Linked DNA regions of Homo sapiens: region 2 is linked to region 1. The links are contacts of gene promoters, found by promoter capture Hi-C in human tissues and cell types (Jung and others, 2019). All regions are on one chromosome and are shown on one strand. Each heading gives the region's core, a stretch centred on a gene start or on the middle of the fragment in contact. The rest is flanking DNA. Distances are from core to core; before and after follow the strand shown.

Region 1 (5,743 bases), core at 308-2,807:
GTTGAAGTGGAGCTCCTTGACCAAGGCCTGGCTAAGTGGCATCAGATGACCACGCTGACGGTCATATTCTGGCCATGGGGGGCTATCTTGCGGGGCCAAGCGACCAACAGTTTGCGCAGCTCCTCGCGGAAGCTGTCGTGCAGCCAGGCGTAGATGAAGGGGTTGTAGCAGGCCGAACTCATGGCGAGCCAGTGGCAGAGCAGCTGCACCAGCCCAAAGGCGTAAGGGTCGATGGCGTGGGGGTCGAGGTCCCGCAGCAGGTTGAAGACGTGCAGCGGCAGCCAGCAGACGGCGAACACCACCACGATCACCACCAGCAAGCAGAAGGTGCGCCGGCGCCGAGCGCGGTCCCAGTCGGCCTGGCTCTGGGTCACGCAGCCCGGCACCACGCGGTTGCGGAGCTTCACTGACACCCGGACGTAAGACAGGAGGATGACCAGCAGAGGGAGCAGGTAGGTGACCAGCAGCAGCCCCCAGGCGTAGAGCTGGCGCTGGCGCTCCTGGGAGCCCCAGAACTCCTCGCAGAGGCGCACGTCGTGCGGCTTGAGCTCCACGTGATAGGTGTGCACGGCGGCGGGCAGCGCCAGCACCGCGGACAGCGCCCAGATGGCCAGCACAGCGTAGGCGCTGAGGCGCAGCGAGATGCGCCGCCTCAGCGGGTGCACCAGCACGACGTAGCGGTCCACTGCGATGGTGGTGAGCGTGAACACCGACACATAGACGGTGACCGGCTGCAGGAAGAAGACCAGGTGGCACAGGCCGCCGCCGAACACCCAGCCGCGTGGCTCGAAGGCATAGGCCAGCGTGAGCGGCACGCAGGCGGTGCACATGAGCACGTCGGACAAGGCCAGGTTGCCGATGAGGAAGTTCGTCACGTTGTGCAGCCGGCGCACCCGCGCGATCACCAGCACCAGCAGGCAGTTGCCCACCAGCCCCACGACCACCACGACGCTGTAGAGCAGCACGATCAGCCCCTTCAGCTGATGCACCAGCTGCAGGCTCTGGAAGGGCGTGACGGCTGGAGCGTCCGCGCCAGCCACCGACCCGTTGCCCGCCGAGGCCTCTGCGCTCTGGTTGGCGGGAGTTGTGACCGCCGGCGGCAGCCCAGAAAATAAGTCAGAAACCCTGGGGCCCCGAGTGGTCGATGAGGCCATGGCCACCTGTTCAAAGGTAATCAAAGTCCGTCACTTCCCTTGCCATACTCCATCCGACCTCCTACACCAGCCGCGCCCCTCCCCCATCGCCTGAGTCCTCCCTTGGGAATAACCGGCCACAGAACAACAGCAAAAGTAGCAAAAAGTGTTGTCCTCTCACCTCTGTAAAATAAACCTAAGCACGGTTAGAACATACGGTTTATTTAAACGCTTCCGCCTCTATTTACGGTCCTCGCAGTCCACGCAGGCAGACTCAGGAGCGCGATCCTACCTGGGAGTGGGGTTTGGAGAGCGGGAAAGCACTCGCGGGAAGAAGGGGCAGAATTTCTGCTGGCCCTCGGTAGTCCTCTGCCCACGTCGGTGATCCGGTCTCGCTTCTCCGCGGGAGCTGAACGGATCCAAATGTTTCCCAGTGGGCTAGCAGCTTCTTAGAGGGACTGGGAGCGCCTCCCCTCAGCTCCGCCCCCCACTCCAGCTCCCATGTATGGAAAATAGGGGTGGAGCGCGCTCTGCCATGCTCGGTGCTTAGAGAACTAGTGAAGAGGACAGTGTGGGGAGGATGGAATCCGAAACGGGAGGAGGGGCCGGCAAACCTGGCCAGAGCAGCGAAGAGGACGAATCTCTACTGCAGGAGCTTGCACGGCCCCTGGAGGGTCAGGGTCCGGAGGAGCGCACAGTGGAGGAGGGCGGAGGAGAGGCGCGAAGCGTCAGGCTATCGGGAGGAGCCGGTGCAGTCTTAGGAGGGAAGGAGCGGGGAAGGAAGTAGCGGTGGGAGATTGCAATGCAGCTGGGGGCTTGAGAGAGGCACGACTGACCCGTTCTTAAAGGCTGGATCCTGCCTAGCGGCCAGGTTGCGGAGGGCAGAGACGCTAGAGGGCTCGGGCTGGGATTTAACAGCAGAGCCTGGAGCTGGTCGCGGACCTGAGGACCCTCACCCTCCCGTGGCCCCGCCACACGAGCCCCCTGCTTGGCTGCAGCGCGCTCAGCGGGCAGCGGGTCCGGCCAAGCCAAAGGCAGGAGTCAGCACCACGGACAGCTTCCGCTGGATCTGCCGCCCCTCGGGCGGATGATGTGGGGAGGAGCAGGGGAAAATGACTAGGGAATTCCTGCCCCTCTCTGGATCCGGGTGTTTGGGGAAGGAACCTGGTCCGGTTCAAAGACCTGCCTCGCTGCCTGCTTTCTGGGCTGGGGCTGAGAAGAGTAGGGTGGAGTGGAGGCAGCTGAGCCGGGGGCCTGGGGGTCGGAGACTCATGACTTTTGCTCCTCTTGGTGGTCACCGCACTCAGTGCCAAGGACGGCGTCGTCTTTTACCTCCCGGGGTCAGAAAATGCAGCTCTCCTGCCAGTTATTCTACACAGGCACACTTCAGTCTGGCCCAGCGACTCCCCGGCTCACCCTTTCTCTCGCTTTCTTTCTCGGCTACCGCGACCTGTGCCGTATCTGGCTGCTTCTCCCAGCACAGAGTAGTTCCTGGACTGAGACTTGACCCCTCCCTCCTTGACTGAACACCCACAGGCCTCTTCTCTTCATTTTAGGATTTTTTAAAAATACTGGTAATTGCAGATTTCAGCTAGGGTAACAAAAGTAACAAACATTTGAGAAGCTTAGGCGTTTCATAAAATCTTCAGTAGTATTAAGTCCTCATTGAAATGCAAATTAGCCTGGCCCACGGGGCAAGAGCCAGGGGAGGAGGGGCCTTTGTAAGCTCCCTCCTTAGAAGCTATCTCATTCCCTCAGCCTCTTGTTTCCTTTTTCCAGAGCATGGAGCTTCATTGTCTCCTCTCTGATAAGTCCTTGTACTTTGTCCTCTGGCTGCAGATATTCCAGTTAGACTGGAAACTAATATCAATTTATTCCACCCTCCAAATTTAAATGAATCACTCATATAGAAAAAAGTCAATATTGGAACAAAAGTAATCAATGTTATGCACCTCTGTCCATCCTAAGCTCACGGTCCCTGAGTTATAATCAATTTAGCTAAAACCAGTGTGTGTGTATATATACATGTATATGTTAGGACAAGATCTCACTCTGTCACCCAGGCTGGAGTGCAGTGGCACAATCATGGCTCACTGCAGCCTCAACCTCCCAGGCCAAAGCCATCCTCCCACCTCTCAGCCTCTCAAGTAGCTGGAACTACGGGTGCACACCACCATGCCTGACTAATTTTTGTTTATTTGTTTCTTTTGAGGCGGAGTCTTGCTCTGTCGCCAGGCTGGAGTGCAGTGGTGTGATCTCAGCTCACTGCAACCTCTGCCTCCCAGGTTCAAGCGATTCTCCTGCCTCAGCCTCCCGAGTAGCTGTGACTACAGGCACGTGCCACCATGCCCAGATGATTTTGTATTTTTAGTAGAGACGGGGTTTCACCATGTTGGCCAGGATGGTCTTGATCTCTTGACCTCGTGATCCGCCCACCTCGGCCTCCCAAAGTGCTGGAATTACACACGTAAGCCACTGCGCCTGGCCTAATTTTTTGTAGAGGTGAGGTTTTGCCATGTTGCCCAGGCTGACTGAACTCCTAGGCTCAAGCAATCCTCCCGCTTCAGACTCCCAAAGTTCTGGGATTACAAGCATGAGCTACTGCACCCAGTCTCAGTATTATATATACTTTTTTAATTGCAGAGCTCTAAATAGGATACAATCAGTGCCTGCCTAATACCTTGCCCAGTAATTTTTCTCATCATTTTCACCTGCAGGGTTTTATGCACCCAAGAGCAGGGGCACTCTTTTGTTTCAAAATCTCTTAAGCAGAGGAAATTGCGATAAAGTCAGTGAAAAAGGATTTGGGATGTTGTTAGGCCTCCTAACTAGAGCCATCATTCTGGTCAATATCATTATATTGGTCAATTATCATATATAATAGTAAAAGTAATAATACGAAGACAACTTTGTCAATAACTGAAGGTCATGTAAACATGGATATTTGAAGTTTCAATATTGGGGCACCCTCCAGAGGAAAGAGTGGATCATTTGCCAAATTCCAGATAAAGTTGGGCAAGCATTTTAGTATTATCAATATTTGCAAGGTGGAAAGGAAGTGAACAGCTGTCCTTTGAAGAGGGAATGAAGATTTAATGTGGCCTATTAGGGCTTCATTCCCTCTTCTCCTCACTGGAGTTAAGGCTAGTCCCTCTCCCAGCCAGCACATCATGATTAAATCATGCTAATGTTCAGACTGTCCAGTACTAAGAATGCTCCAAAAACCTGAGAGAGCATAAATAAACAAAAAAAAATAGGATAAATGAAGGAAAGGTAATACTTCATACAGTAGACAGCAAACTATGGGATTTTACTTCCTCCCATTCTCCAAAAGTCTTCAATAGCCCATCCAACCAAGGCCAGATGCTTTCGCATGGTATTTCCAACCAGTGTGCACTCCCTTTCTGATATGTCCTCATTTTTTTGGTCTAGCTTCCCACCTCTGTCCATTTTACTTCCTAGGTACAAGCCAAACTTTGCTGGGTGCTGAGATATCCTCACCATTCCTGTCTAATTCCTCTCTTAAGGTTTATTTCTTTTCTCCACAATGTCAGTTGTTTAATCCCCACTCAACTCTACCTGTCCACATTCTTCACATCCTACAAGACCCAACCCAAGGACAACTGTTCTCAAAGACTTGTCCCTTCCATAATCTTTCTGTCTTTTATTAATTTCTACCTTGAAATTACGGAAGTGTTTAGCTTCCCTGCCTCCACCAACCCTGACTGTAAATTCTTTATGGACAGGGCCAATGTCTTGATACATTTTGTACCTACAACATGCCACGAGCCCAGCAGATACCCAATACATGTGTTTTTCTTTTTCTTTTTTTTTATTGAATGAATAAAAATAGTTACCATTTACTTAGGGCTTTAGGCATGCCAGCCATTGCTAAGTACATCACACAAATTGTCTCATTTGAGTCCCCTCAAAATTATTATTATACCCATTTTACAGATGAGAAAACTGGCTCTCAAGTCAAGAAACTAACCATAATGGCACATCTAGTATGCAGTGGGGTTGGAATTTCATCTTAGATCTGCCTGATTCTGGCACCACACCACTCAACTACTATACTTCACTGCCTATGAATGAATGGCAGATGTACCTGCAAAGACTGAAAATACAAGCAGGTTCAAATGAGATTGAATAAATACAGGAACCCCTCCCCCCATGGTTTATTAAGAAAGCTCTAGAAAATTTAGTTACAACTCACACCTTATCATGTTTAAGCTAAACAGATCTTCATGCCTTACCCCAAATGTCTCTTGCTTCCATCCCATATAGGAAACAAAACCTTGGGCCATAGTGCTACTGGTGGGTCTTTGCTCCCAGAGCTCCCAAGATGGTGGTGGGCCACTCCCAAGCAAGACGGCGGCAAGCTTCTTGCTCTCTGACCTGGGGTTTTTGGCCTCACGGATTCCAAGGAATGGAACCTTGGGCCATGCAGTGAGTGTTATAGCTCTATTAGAAGCCGTGGGTCACGGAAGAGAACCATGGAGCCCAGCAACTAGTGTTCAGCTCGATTAGGACAAACCCAGGCACTTAGCCGCACAGGAACAATGGTGAGAACCGGAACAGCAATGGGCGCCTCACTGGATCAGAAGCGC
Region 2 (6,192 bases), core at 1,048-3,547, 190 kb after region 1:
GAATTGTTGCATATGACTTCCAGGAAGTGGTTCTGAAAGAAGAAGGCAGGAATTTCGCCTTCTTCCTTATGGCTACAAGGTAGACATGATGGCAGGAGCTGCAGCAACTATCTTGGGCTATAAAGTAGAGACTCTAATATGGGTGCCAGAGCAGTGTAGTAGAAGGAGTTTCTGACAATCATAGAACTGCTTTTCCAACCCTAGGCTGCCTGCCTCTGGTTCATTTACACGAGAAAGAACCATACTTTATCTTGTAATACCACTCTTTTCAAGCTTTCTGCCTCTCACAGCCAAACCTCATCTGCTAGCCTTGCTCTTGAACTTGAGGCCTGCTCCTTTTTGGAAAAATTATTTTCTTGAAATAATCAGAACTGAAAGATAAATGGAAAGGAAATGACTTTTGCATTATAATTTAATATTTTTTAAATGTGCTTGTGCATGACTTAAATTATCTCTCCTACCACAGGTGGTACCTACCTCATGCTTTAGAAAAACCTCACAGGTTTCAAAGTCAGTTGAACCCAAGTTAGAATTTAGTTTCTAAGATTTACTGCTGTGTAACCATGAGTAAGTTACCCAACATTCCTAAACTTTAGTTTTGCTTTATTAAATAAAAATTAAAATATCTTTCTTCAAGAATTTATCAAACAAGTCCAGGCATGGTGGCTCAAGCCTATAATCCCAGCACTTTGGGAGACCGAGGCAGGCAGATCACTTGAGGTCAGGAGTTCGAGTCCAGCCTGGCCAACATGGTGAAACCCTATCTCTACTAAAAATACAAAAATTAGCGGGGCTTGGTGGCACGCGCCTGTAATCCCAGCTACTCTGGGAGCTGAGGCGGGAGAATCACTTGAAACTGGGAGGTGGAGTTTGCAGTGAGCCGAGATTGTACCACTGCACTCAAGCCTGGGTGACAAAATGAGACTCCATCTCAAAAAACACCAAACAAATTTTTATTATACATCTGCTATTTGCATGATATTATGCTGAAGATATGGAGAAAAAGACAGGTAAGACTTTGACCTTCATGGAGCTTGAAGCCCAATGGGGAAGAGATGAGAAAGAAAGCAAATAAATACACGAAATCATCACAACAAATAGTATACTGTAATGGAGAATAACAGCATGGGAACACTTGGAACTGGGAGCTCATTCCCTTCAAGGACTGAAAGAATAACCTTATGTAAAGCTCTGAGCACACTAGCCAGTTACATGACAGTCCTCTTCTAGAAGCTGCCAGACCTGCTCCCTTCAGACTGGGGCCTGCCGTAAACAAAGCCCAAGTGGCCCAGCATGCACCCTGTGCGTAGACCCTACGCAGCCAATCCAATCTGTGCTGCTTCTGTCCATCTGAAGATGGATGCAGGTCAGGATGGACAGACAGAAGGCCGTACACAGAATGCCACCAGGGAAAGCTATTGGCTGCAGAAGCCCTGCCTAGCACAGACTCTCTACTGAGCTGGCTTTGTTCCTTTGCATAATGGGCACCACCTGGGTCCCAGGGAATGCAACTGGCATCAATTAGTTCTCATAGAGCCCAAGCTGGAGCACAGCCTGGCTCTCCTCCTAGGTACTGGCTCTGGAAGCAGCCAGCTCCTGGTCTGCGTCTTTTACTCCTAATGACCTCCATTGGTGACCTCTTCCCAATCAAGCAGGGCCCACTAGGCACACAGCTGCCACCATGATGAGAAACCTGGTTCTCAGAGCTAAATGATCAGACCCCAGCCACCACTGTATGCCTGGAGGGGCCCGATGAACTAAGGACAACTTAAGCAACAGAGGGACTCTGAAAATTCTGTTTCTGGCTTTTATTCTCAGAATTTCATTCCATATAGAGGGACAGGCAGTCTAGAATTGGTGGTATTGCACAGCACCTAAGTGGCTACTATGCAGGCAGACAGGCAGGATGGGAGAGACCCAGTCCCTATCCAGCTGTTTCCAGTGGTCTAATCTCGGGCAAGGGACTTAACTTCCCTAAGCTTTGGTTGCCCCATCTTAAAATGGGCATGAAAATCATAGTACCTACCTCATGTTTTGGGCAAAGGATTAAGTGCAAGAATCCATGTAAACATATTTAGGAACTGTTCAGTGTGTGTTTGCTATGATTTATCTTCTTCATTTACTCAATAAATGTTTTTGAGCATCTAATATGTGCTAGGCCCTATTCTAGGCTCTGGAAATGTCACACATCTGATGAACATCCATTTGTTAGGCTACAAGGCATTTAAACCGGGCAAGAGTTTGTGATGTACCTGCCCCACTGTATGACTTGGCTTTTTCTCCATAACCACCCAGAAACTCAGTGGCTTCAAGCAACAGATGTTTCTGCTTTCTCATGACTCTATGGGTGATCCGAGCAATTCTTGTGTTCTGGACCAGGTTAGCCAGAGGTGGGTGGTCCAGGATGATACATGGGTCCTGGGCCTCAGTTGGGATGTTTGCAGCCACCTTCCCCATGGTTTCTTAACCTACAAGTGAGAGGTGACAGCATGCTGGCAGTCCTCAGAGCCCTCGCTTGCTCTCGGCACCTCCCCTGCCTGGGCTCCCACTTTGGTGGCATTTGAGGAGCCCTTCAGCGCCCCCTCTGCACTGTGGAAGCCCCTTTCTGGGCTGGCCAAGGCTGGAGCCCACTCCCTCAGCTTGCAGGGAGGTGTGGAGGGAGAGGCACGAGCGGGAACCGGGGCTGCGTGCAGCGCTTGCGGGCCAGCTGGAGTTCCAGGTGGGCGTGGGCTTGGTGGGCCCCGCACTCGGAGCAGCCAGCCAGCCCTGCTGGCCCCGGGCAATGGGGGACTTAGCACCCGGGCCAGTGGCTGCGGAGGGTCTACTGAGTCCCCCAGCAGTGCCGGCCCACCGGCGCTGCGCTCGATTTCTCGCTGGGCCTTAGCTGCCTTCCCGCGGGGCAGGGCTCGGGACATGCAGCCCGCCATGCCTGAGCCTCCCACCCACTCCATGGGCTCCTGTGCGGCCTGAGCCTCCCCGACGAGCACCACCCCCTACTCCACGACGTCCAGTCCCATCGACCACCCAAGGGCTGAGGAATGCGAGCGCAGGGCACAGGACTGGCAGGCAGCTCCACCTGCAGCCCCGGTGCGGGATGCACTAGGTGAAGCCAGCTGGACTCCTGAGTCTGGTGGGGACGTGGAGAGTCTTTATATCTAGTTCAGGGATTGTAAATACACCAATCATCACCCTGTGTTTAGCTCAAGGTTTGTGAGGGCACCAATCGACACTCCGTATCTAGCTGCTCTGGTGGGGCCTTGGAGAACCTTTATGTCTAGGTCAGGGATTGTAAATACACCAATCAGCACCCTGTGTTTAGCTCAAGGTCTGTGAATGCACCAATCGACACTCAGTATCTAGCTGCTCTGGTGGGGCCCTGGAGAACCTGTGTGTCGAAACTCTGTATCTAACTAATCTGATGGGGACGTGGAGAACCTTTGTATCTACCTCAGGGATTGTAAACGCACCAATCAGCGCCCTGACAAAACAGGCCACTCGGCTCTACCAATCAGCAGGATGTGGGTGGGGCCAGATAAGAGAATAAAAGCAGGCTGCCCGAGCTAGCATTGGCAACGGGCTTGGGTCCCCTTGTGCACTGTGGAAGGTTTGTTCTTTTGTTGTTTGCAATAAATCTTGCTACTGCTCACTCTTTGGGTCCACGCTGCTTTTCTGAGCTGTAACACTCACCGCGAAGATTTGCAGTTTCACTCCTGAGCCCAGCGAGACCACGAGCCCCCCGGAAGGAACGAACTACAGACGCGTTGCCTTAAGAGCTATAATACTCACCGTGAAGGTCTGCAGCTTCACTCCTGAGCCAGCGAGACCACAAACCCACCAGAAGGAAGAAACTCCGAACACATCTGAATATCAGAAGGGAGAGACTCCACACGCGCCACCTTAAGAGCTGTAACACTCACCGTGAGGGTCCGCGGCTTCATTCTTGAAGTCAGTGAGACCAAGAACCCGCCAATTCTGGACACACAAGGAGGGTACAATGGTCTTGTTCAGTAGGTGCCAGAAGGTCCCACGGTAAGAAAGAAGGCAAACACCAACTCACAAGCACTTTCCTCTGCTTGTGACACATTAGCTATTTTTACATTGTCCAAAGCAAGTCACAAGGCCAGAGTCCGTGGGAGGGGACCACCCAAGGGCATGGAACGAGGGAACCAGGAACAAGTGGGAGCTGTTACTGCCACAACCAACTACACTGACCCATTTCTCAGTGGTCTCCGAATGTTTTTGATCATATATCCCTGTATTAGTCTGTTCAGGCTGCCATCACAAAATAACACAGACAGAATAGCTTAAACAACAGAAGTTTATTTTTTCATAGTTATGGAAACCCAAGATCAGGGTGCTGGTATGGTTGGGTTGTGGTGGGGTCTCTCTTCCTGGTCTGCAGATGGCTGCCTTCTTGCTATGTTCTTACATGGTCCTTCCTGGATGTATGCACAGGGAGAGAGAGCACAATATCTCTCTCATCCCTCTCTTACAAGGTCACCAATTCAATTGATTAGGACCCCACCCTTATGACCTTATTTAACCTTAATTACCTCCTAAAAGCCCCATGTCCAAATACAGTCACACTGGGGATTAGGGCTTCAACATATGTATTTGTTGGAACACAGTTCAGTCCATAGAAATCTCTATTTTTTAAGACATTTGCAGCTCCAATACATGCATATTTATGTATACATTATATATACATTACATTAAAAATTTTTTAAAGATGAGTTAAAGATGTAATATTTTAGTGTTAATTTTGATGGCATTTTTTTATTAATAAATAATATTGCAAGGCACAATACACACTAAGGGTGAGCTCATGAATGACAGTGGACATAAATCCATCTTTCAAGGGACCCTCTTGATCATTTTAGTTTGGGGGGCAAAGAGGCTGACTTCTTGGCAGATTTCATTTTACCTCATAATGTGCTGATATAGAGCTGATACTAGCCACATAAGCTCTGCCAATTTCTTATGGTTTTCTGGGACTTATACTATTAGTATTATCTTTAATCTTCAATCTATAATAATCTATTAAAACATTTTCATTTTGTAAAGATCAATTTTGGTAAAACTAGATCATGGGCTGGGTCCAGTGCCTCACATCTATAAATCCTAGCAATTTGGGAGGCTGAAGCAGGTGGATCTTTTGAGGCCAGGAATTTGAGACCAGCCTAGGCAACACAAAAAGACCTCATCTCTACAGGAAAAAAACAAAAAACAAAAAAAAAAAACCTGGGTGTGGTGGCATGCACCTATAGTCACAGCGACTCAGGAGGCTGAGACAGGAGGATTGCTTGAGCCCAGGAGTTCGAGGCTGCAGTGAGCTAAGATCGCACCACTGCACTCCAGTGTGGGGGACAGGGCCAGATCCTGTCTCTTTAAAAACAAAAACAAAAAATGGCCTAGGTTGTGTAGTTTATAAATCCATCTACCCACTTGCGAATAGACCAAACTATCTCAGATTCCCCTGAGTGTTGATGTGCAGGTGGTGAGGTTACCAGCACCGGCCCCCACATCACAGAGCATTCAAGGCTGCACCTGTGCCATGGGTGGCAAAGGAGCCTCTGAGGAAAGCTATGACTGTCAAGCTGAGTCCGTTTTGTGCTTTGTGGGTTTTTAAAATTTTTGTTTAATACTTTTTGGTGTTCTACACATTCAGAGAAACTTTTCTAGTAACAAATGATAGAAATGATCCTTGAAAGTATCATCTTCTGAACATTAAAAGATTAGGAAAGTATAATTGCTTTGTTATTTTTTTAGCCCCAAAGTTCCAATATTTTTTCACACAACCCAGCACCTTGTGCTGAGCGCCCCACTTGGAAACCACTGATTTGCTTTATCAAAAAAAAAGTGGTTTTGTACATGATATTAAAGTGTAAAACAATGCCTTATGCCCAATGTTAGTAGCAACTGAATAGTTTATATAAAAGTATCTGGTAAGTAGGGCTTGGTCTTATATAAAATTGGAAATCTGGCTGGGCGCGGTGGCTCATGCCTGTAATCCCAACACTTTGGGAGGTTGAGGCAGGCGGGTCACTTGTGGCCAGGAGTTCAAGACCAGCCTGGCCAACATGGTGAAACCCCGTCTCTACTAAAAATACAAAATTAGCCGGGCATGGTAGTGTATGCCTGTAGTCCCAGCTACTCAGGAGGCTGAGGCATGAGAATCACTTGAACCCGAAT

What was found. Contacts are between HindIII fragments. The study calls those that stand out against the background at their distance.
Region 2: a fragment that was not itself captured here is called in contact with the fragment with the promoter of PRLHR in region 1 in 2 of the 25 tissues and cell types used here (heart left ventricle and spleen).

What each region holds. Positions count from the first base shown.
Region 1 is chr10:118,594,091-118,599,833 of GRCh38, forward strand. PRLHR (prolactin releasing hormone receptor) reads right to left here and starts at 1,558. Exons shown (of 2, transcript NM_004248.3): 1 at 1,426-1,558; 2 at 1-1,160. The coding sequence starts at 1,154. The coding sequence ends at 42. RefSeq lists enhancers at 517-1,325, 1,326-2,134, 2,135-2,943. The HindIII fragment of the contact is 7,132 bases long and covers 1-4,136 here.
Region 2 is chr10:118,780,244-118,786,435 of GRCh38, forward strand. It overlaps LINC03036 (long intergenic non-protein coding RNA 3036), which reads right to left. Exons shown (of 4, transcript NR_186540.1): 4 at 4,301-6,192. Among named protein-coding and RNA genes, the nearest start is that of CACUL1, 28 kb to the left of the region's middle. The HindIII fragment of the contact is 7,267 bases long and covers 1-5,931 here.